Linked DNA regions of Homo sapiens: region 2 is linked to region 1. Evidence: promoter capture Hi-C in 16 types of primary human blood cells and fetal thymus (Javierre and others, 2016). All regions are on one chromosome and are shown on one strand. Each heading gives the region's core, a stretch centred on a gene start or on the middle of the fragment in contact. The rest is flanking DNA. Distances are from core to core; before and after follow the strand shown.

Evidence for each region. Contacts are between HindIII fragments. The CHiCAGO score rates a contact against its expected background, and 5 or more counts as called.
Region 2: a contact is called between a fragment that was not itself captured here and the fragment with the promoter of CCNI in region 1, in 3 of 17 cell types (M1 macrophages, M0 macrophages and M2 macrophages). The highest score is 6.3, in M1 macrophages.

Annotation. Positions count from the first base shown.
Region 1 is chr4:77,074,739-77,079,022 of GRCh38, reverse strand. CCNI (cyclin I) reads left to right here and starts at 3,034. Exons shown (of 7, transcript NM_006835.3): 1 at 3,034-3,551. RefSeq lists enhancers at 1,868-2,838, 2,737-2,966 and silencers at 3,147-3,496, 3,557-3,706. The HindIII fragment of the contact is 6,616 bases long and covers 215-4,284 here.
Region 2 is chr4:76,514,331-76,518,740 of GRCh38, reverse strand. All of the region lies in intron 1 of SHROOM3 (shroom family member 3), which reads right to left. Among named protein-coding and RNA genes, the nearest start is that of MIR4450, 57 kb to the left of the region's middle. The HindIII fragment of the contact is 936 bases long and covers 906-1,841 here.

The DNA.
Region 1 (4,284 bases), core at 1,785-4,284:
CATAAAAACATAATATTGTTGGACCTAGGAATAGCCCCAAAGAGGTTATGAAGATGTTAATTGAATTATTTTTGTTTTTCATTTTTTGGGTAGCAGCTTTATTATAATTCAAACACCATAGAAGTAATACATTTAAAGTGTACAATTCAATGGTTTTTAGTACAGGTTGCATATCCCTGATACAAAAATCTGAAATGCTCCAAAATCCAAAGCTTTTTGAGTGCCAACATGACACTCAGAGGAAATGCTCATTTTGGATTTTCAGACTAGGTTGCTCAACCAGTAAGTATATAATTTAATGCAAACATTTCCAAAACTGAAAAAAAAGTTTAAAATTCAAAATACTTCTGGTCTCAAATATTTTGGATAATACTCAACCTAAATATTCACAGTTGCGCAACCATCAACACAATCAATCTCAGAACATTTTTCTCACCTCAAAAAGAAACCTTCAAAAAATCAGTTGGGCATGGAGGCATGCGCCTGTGGTTCCAGCTACACAGGAGGCTGAGGCAGGAGGATTGCTTGATCCTGGAGGTCAAGGCTACAGTGAGTCATGTTCACACCATTGCACTCCAGCCTGCAGCCTGGGGGACAGAGCAAGGCCCTGTTTCCAAAAAAAAAAAAAAGAAAAAAAGAAAAGAAAAAAAGAAAGAAACCCCCATATCATTTAACTATCATCCCCTAATCCCATGCCTGCCCCTAGCCCTAAGCAACCACTTCCTTACTTTCTGTCTCTATATATTTGCCTATTCTGGACATTCACGTAAGTGGAATCATATAATATGTGGTCTTTTGTGACTGGCTTCTTTCATTTAGCATACTGCTTTCAAAGGTTATGCATGTTATAGCATGTATTAGTATTTTCTTTTTATGGCCCAATAAGATTCCATTGTATAGGTCGGTGTGACGGCTCATGCCTGTAATCCCATCACTTTCAGGCTAAGGAGGGAGAATTGCTAGAGGCCAGGAGTTTGAGACCAGCCTGGACAACATAGGAAGTCTCATGGCACCCCCATCTGCGCCACGGAGCCAGACCCCATCTCTTAAAAATAAAAATTTGATTGTACATAGATGTATCACATTTGATTTATACAGGCGCCAGCTGATGAACATTTAGGTTGTTTCATCTTTGGCTATTATGAATAATGCTAACGTTTGTAAAAAAGTTTTTGCATGGACAAATATTTTCCTTTCTCTTGGGTATATATTTAGGAGTGGAATTTGCATTATTCTTATTGGAGTGAAAATCAGAAGCAATTTCATGGTCTAACAATGGAATTATGTTACACTCTCAATAGTATTATGCAGAAATGCTACAGTCTCAAGAGTAACATGCAGAAAAATGGTGGCTTTTTTGAATGAAGACCATATAATAATAGGCTACATGAAGTGAAAAAAAGAAAAAAAAAGGATACAACCCACTTGAAATCCTCCTAGGGCTTCCCATTCCTTCTTCTGTTCTATGGCATCTGTCCTCTGCTTCCACATCCTGCCTCAGTTGTCTGAGGGCCAGCCACACTAGCTTTCAGAGATTTTTAGAACGTCTCAGCTTCGGAGCCTTTTCACATAACTTCCTCTGCTTGTATCATTCTTTGCCCAGTGGTTTCAAGTCTCATCTTAAATGTCACTTCTTCAGAAAAACCTTCTCTGATATCCCAAACCAGGCGGAAAGGCAAGCGTTTCCACAGCAGCCGGCGATTTTCCATCTTAACGGTTTTAATACCAGAATTGTTTACTTGGTCAAATATTGAGAGCCTTTTATACACAGGGATAGAGGGTGAAACATGCAAGATCCCTGCCGCCTGCGACCTTATATTCTAGGGAGGGGATACATGCACAAGTAAACAAGTAAATGTACTTGGTAATTTTACATAGTGATAATTAGCTCAATGGTTATCCTCTGTTTGGACTGTAAACTCCATGAAGGCAGGAGCTATGTCTGTCTTGGCTACTTCCAGTTTGCTGAGTCTGGCCACTAAATAAACTCAACACATATTTTTTCACTGACAGTTAAAATAACTATATAAAAAACAAATGGAAAAAACAAACGAGACTTCTATAAATGGTTGAGATCTAGCTCTTCCTCTTTCAAAACTCTGTAATACTACATATTTTTAAATAATTAAAACAATCAAAATAGCAAAAAGTTACCGTTTGTACTAACAGAACCCCAAATAAAACCCATTTATGTCACCACACATTCTTTAAGCACCTGGTAATAAAACCTATTCGGAAATACTCAGACGTGTTGGTTGAGTGGATAAAATCCCCTTGCCACATTGCCAAGCAGGTTCCTCGCCGTCAGCAGTATAATTTACAGTGTTTCACTGAGGCCTTAAGCACCCATGATTTGATTCTCCCTAATTTTCCGATTCCTAAAACCCTTTAGAATCTCCCTCCACCCACACAATGTGGCAGTGAGAAAAACCGCAATTCTATTTACATGTCAACGGTAAGAACACGTAATACTTTGCTAGGTCAACAAATCTGCAAGATCTCCACCCAAGAGATCAGTAGCCCCTTCCCAGTGAATCCTTCTAAGAGCCTGGGGACGAGTAGGGCTAGATAAAACCAAGCTGCTGTAAAGCTGGACCACAGGAGCGGATCGTGAAATCCCCTCCCCCAAGCGCAGCGCTCGGCCGCTTCTTTCTTCCCCAGGCGCATGCGCAGCGCACTCTCCGGCCACCGCACGCCCCCTCAGTGGGGGCCCAGAGACGCTGACGTCACCGTGCGGTCTGCAAGCAACCCTTCCGCTCCTTCAAGGAAAATGAGTCCACGGACCTTCGGCTTTTCTTAGCCACGAGAAAACGTCCTCCCTCCTTCCATCCTAGTGCCAACGACTTCCCCAGCCCGTCTCCTTTCGGCCGCACTTCTCTGTACTTTCGTTGGACCGGGAAGGCGGCGGGGAGGAACAGGAAGGGTGAAAGACCAAGTCCGCGTAGTTTACAAGGAGTGGGCGAGTCTAGGAATCGGTCCGCGAGGGCGGAGCCGAGGAAGCCGGCACTTCTTCCTCCCTTCCCCTCTCTTCCCCTCCCTCCCCAGCCTTCCCCGCGAGCGGACGCGGCAGCGCCTCTGTCTCGCTTTTTCTTATTTTTCCCCCCTTTCCCCTTTCTTTTTTTTTTTTTCTTTTCTTTTCTCCCCTCCCCCCCTTTCACCATTTCCCCTCGGAGGCGCTTTCCCCGGGCAGGGGCAGAGCCGGTCTCACCCCCCGCCTCTCCCCGGCCCCCGCCGCCCTATGGCGAGAGGGAGCCCCCTCCCAACCCGGGCTCGAGCGGCGGCGGCCTCAGGCCGGGGGTCATCATGGAACTAATTCGCTGACCGACCCAGCGGCCGCAGCCGTGCGTCCCGCTCGAGCGCCAGCGCCCGCGCCCGCGCCCCCCGATCCGCTTCCCCTTTCTCCCTCCTCAGTTGGCCGAGTCGTCCCGCGCGCACCGCCTCCGCGCGCCTATGAGAATGAGGTGGTAACGGGCCCCCGGATGACCCCGCGTCACCACTGTGAGGCCTACAGCTCTGCCGGGGAGGAGGAGGAGGAGGAAGAGGAGGAGAAGGTGAGGGGCGGGGGCGGGGGCGGGGGCTCGACGCGTCTCCGCGGCCGGCGTCGACGCGCTGGGGCCCCGCTGCTCCCCCCGCGCCGCCCCCGTGGCAGCGCCCTTGGCCGCGCGCTGCTCGCCGGAGACCCACCCTCCCGCATCCCCCAGCCCGGGGAACCTCGGGGCCGCCCTCTTCGTCCTCTCCGGCCCAGACAGACCCGTCACCTGCCCACTTGAAAACGGCACTACTGTGTTCCTTTTCGGGCCAGTTTTTCTGTCAGCGAGTAACTTTTTTTTGTGGCAGCGGCAAATTAGCTACTCTATAGTGCGTGTTGGAGGCTCTACGAGCCCGTGTTAATACACAAAGAAGGGGACACACCCCCACCCTCAGGTTGAACGATTCTCCGGGGACACCAGGAGGATTACTAACTTTGCACGGCAGACTGAATGCCAAATGAATGGGGTGAACCTCCGGTGCTGTGAAATTCGGGGGAGGGCAACGTTACCCAGGGCTTGGGGCGGGTGGGTGGGGGGAATCCGGGGGAGGTGAGATTTGAGTTGTGCTCTAAAGGCTAGATTAAATAACTGGAATTTGAAAGGAGGACAGAGGAGCCTCCGCTGGAGCTAGGGGGCTCCGTTACAGATCCTTTTGGCAGAAGTTGACAATTGGGTATCAAAACAGTGGAAGGTGTTTCGGGAGGTAGGATGGATTCAGACTCTGAAGGGGTTTGAACTAAAATGTTTATGTTTT
Region 2 (4,410 bases), core at 124-2,623, 560 kb after region 1:
AGAGTACACAGGAACAGGCTTGGGTGCCTGGCCCCAGATGTGTTACAGTACTCATTTAGAAATATGTTAGATAAGCTCCGTAGAACCCTACCAAATGTGAACAGCCATTTTTGATTCTTTGAAATCATTCAGATTATTTAACACAGGCAGGCAGGCAGGCAGGCAAGCAGGCAAGAAGGAAGGAAGGAAGGAAGAAGGTAGGAAGGAAGGAAGGTAGGAAGGAAGGAAAGAAGGAAGGAAGGAAGGCAGGCAGGCAGACAGGCAAAAAGGAAGGAGGGGGGAGGGGAAAGAAAATGAAATAAAACCCTGTCCATTAATGAGAACACTCTGTTTTTGCCTCTGTCTTTCAAAGACATGGGGAAAATGATCTCATTCAACCACAACAAAGATTTATGGAGTGCATATTAGGTGCCAGATGCTGATATGGAGTGGAGGACACTACGAATGAATAAATGTAGTCCCTGCTCTTGGGGGGTTAAATGCCTAAAGAATTATAGAGGTTTGAACCTCCCCAAAATGTCTGTCTTTCCCCCTATTTATCAGAAGTTGAGATAATTTGATATTTTATATGATTCTTAAGAGTCAAGCTCTCACCCTCCACTAGGAATACACACACACATACACACACACAACCAAAATAATCATCTTGCAATTTCTGAGGGTTGACAGATATTTCCTTATAACTTAAATAAATCTCTCATTTTAAAAGCTGTCCCTCTGGACTAAAAAAAATCTGATTTAGAAACTTTACCACAGTCAATTCATATCATTTACTTTGTAAGGAAAAAGTCTTCATGTTCCTCTTCTATATGCAGCCCTTGCTCTGCTGCAGCCGCAATATCCCGGTGAGGCTACCGGGAGGTCATTCAATCCACTTCCTTTCCACGGGGAATGGCTGGGAAGCTTTGGTTAAATGAGTGGTCCAAGGTCACATGGTAACAAATTCTGGCCCAGAGTCCTAATCTGAAAACCCTAGTCTTTTCCTCTCTCTGCTAGCATACACAGGCCCTCATTGGTCTGAGAATTAGCAGAACAGAACCCATATTGTTGAAGAAATTTTCAAATAATCAGCCACTGACTACAGCCCTAACATCCCCTTTATATATATATATATATATACCAAACAAACAAACAAAAACCCTAAGCAACTCAATCAGGAGAAATTCTTTTTAAGTTTCATTTACATGGATAAGAATCCTAAATCTTACCTATCTAGCACATCATGTCAAAAAACTACAAGTTAACCAAGCAAGAATTCTGTGAAACTACCTGGTCAGACCAGCAGAGCTGAGAACAGTGCCCTGGGCATGCAGGGTTAGGGATGTTCTGTATTTGGGATGCCCTGTACTTGCGATGCAGTGTTACCACCTGGGATAGGGAGGAAGTGAGCCTTTTTTAGACACTGTATCTTTGATAGTCCAGGTGATTTGCCTACACCCATCCAATGCCAACTGCATGTAAACTGGGGTGACTTGTTAGTTCCTGGATGACAAGGGTATGACCCAAGATGGGCAGACACACGGACTCTTTCTCACCAGGGCCTCTGGCAGACATTTTCCATGTATCAAAGCTCAAAGCAAAGTTCTTTTACAGCAAAGAAGACCAAGCAGTTGTCACTGAGAAGAAACCTGATTGCTCTCCTTGCAATGATCCTTTCAGCACTAAATATCTAATCCCATTGTAAGACTGAGAAAGTCACCAAGTGTGTTGTATTGCAGCAGGAAATCTATTTGAAGACAGTTTTAATAACAAGATAAATAGAAGTTCCAAAGGGTAGGAAAGGATTTCCTTAAGTGAGAACATAAATAACTCATCATTAAAATCTGGGTATGATGGAAGCTTGGCTGAAAGCAAGACTCTGGATTGGCTAGCTCAGAGGGAGTTCTCAAACCTCCCTGTAAAACTTTTTCACAGATTTCCTGTTCATGAGACTTGGGGTGGGATTGGAGGTAGCAGCTATAATTTATGAAAGGATCCAGGATCAGAAACTTAGAAAATCAGATCTGGAGACCCAACTTAAGTGTAGTTATTGGCTAGACTGTCCTCAGGGACTGCCCTGGTGATGTACACCAGGACTTTGTGTTTCTGTAATGTGCTTATTGCATAATATCTATTAGCTGGTGATTTTGGTTCCTTTTTTTTTTCTAAATCATGCTCCTGTTTTCATATATTATGAGCAAAGTGCTGTTATCTGAGAGTATCAGCTGACTCAGACCATTCAGTTCAGGGATTCCTCTAGGCTCCTGAGTAGGGGCTTAGATAGGGCAAATTCTGATGGTCTTACAAGGGAACCCCAGTCCTTCATGTCATAAGAGCATCTCTGCCTATAGCTTCATCTGATCTCAACACAGAGAACTAATAAGGTAGGGACATGGCATGATTTGGACTTCAGGAATATTACTTTCCTAGTTGGAAGGATGGATAATAGGAGCAATATTACAGTCTAGAAAACATGTTACAAAGATATTGCAATTGACCAGGCTAGAGAGAAAGAGGAACTGAACAGGAGAAATGACGGAGAAGAGATATACATTTGAGTAATAGTAGGAGGTAAAGTCAGTATCCTTGGTCATTCACTAACCATAGTGGGTGAAGGAGCAGAAAGACTCTGTGGTGACTTCAAAGAAGGATCACAACCCACTTTCCCTCTCGGTCTACTGCTAGTTTCACACACTAACCTGACTCCCAATCTCTCTCATTATCTTTGTGTTATTATGAAGTATCATTTCTGGTTATCAGACATGGCTTCCCATGTAATCATTTCCCATGCCAGGCCCTGTGTCAACAGTTGAGCTTTCTACCCACCTGGAGTTTGAGAACAGATCAAGACCAGCTTATGCCTAATATCTCAAATTAATTATTTACCTCATAAAGTAGTACCAGGCAAGTGAGACTGATAAGTCTGTCCTAGCTTAGAAGAAAGACCACCTACATGACTTCTCAACATGACTTTAAATAATAAAATTAAATTTGGCAATGGGAAGTCTACACCCAGACAAGTCTCGGCTTGAGTTTATATGGTTTTTAGACGTAAAATCCAACTCTGGTCACTGACTGATACTGCAAACCCAGAAACATTAACCAAGAAATATTTCATATCCTCTGCTCTATTGGAATAAAACCCAAGCCACTGAGGAGTTTAAGGGCAAAGGACAATTCGAAAACCTGGAAGCAATGGTCAATGTGCTCATTAGAAGTTCTAAAGGAAATAATAATAATAACAATAACATTCTGAAGACCAGAGCCCAAGGGAATCTCAGAGAACAATGGAAATTTCTATTGTGTTGAAAATCATGGAATCAGCCTCTCTTCTCTTGTTTGGTTTTCATTTTCTTCCTTCCTTCCTTTTTTTTTTCAGACAAGTTCTCATTATGTCATCCAGGCTGGAATGCAGTGGCACCATCTTGGCTCACTGTAGCCTCAACCTCCTGGACTCAACTGATCCTTCTGCCTCAGGCTCCTGAGTAGTTAGGACTACAGGCACATGCCACAACATCCAGCTAATTTTTTTTTTTTTTTTTTTTTTTAGACAGAGTTTTGCTCTGTCACCCAGGCTGGAGTGCAGAGGCGTGATCTCAGCTCACTGCAACTTCTACCTCTTGGGTTCAAGCAATTCTCCTGCCTCAGCCTCCCAAGTAGCTGGGATTACAGGCTTCCAGCACCATGCCCAGCTAATTTTTGTATTTGTAGTAGAGACGGGGTTTCACCACATTGGCCAGACTGGTCTCGAACTCCTGACCTCAAGCGATCCACCCACCTTGGCCTCCCAAAGTGTTGGAATTACAGGTGTGAGCCACCACATCTGAACTTTTTTAACAAATGGGTCTCACTATGTTTCCCAGGCTGGTCTTGAACTCCTTGGCCTTACAATGTGCTGGGATTACAGATGTCAGCCACTGCACCCAGCTCATTTTCTTTCTTGAGCCAAGTATTTTCTCTTCCATCTTTCCTCGTTGTCTTGTTCTCCTTCCCTATACTTCATTTTTAATTTTAATTGAATTATATTTTAAATGTTTAATATATTTATTGAATAAAGTTTCACGCTTCATATATTATTGAGATGTAATTCGCATATCATAAAATTAAATCCACATACTATAAAATTCACCCTTTTTCATTGAACAGTTCATTGGCTTATAGTGTATTTACAGAGTTGTGGAACTAGGACCACTATCTAATTTCAGAACATTTTCATCGTCCCAAAAGAGACCTCATATCCACTCGCAGTCCTACTCCATTCTCCCCTATACCAAACCAGCCCCTGGCAGCCACTGAAGTACTTTATTTTTCTATGGATTTGCCTGTTCTGGGCATTTCATATGAGTGGAATCATGCAATATGTGGCCTTTGGTGTCTGCCTTCTTTCAGTTTTTTAAGGTTTCTCCACATTGCAGCATGTATCAGTACATC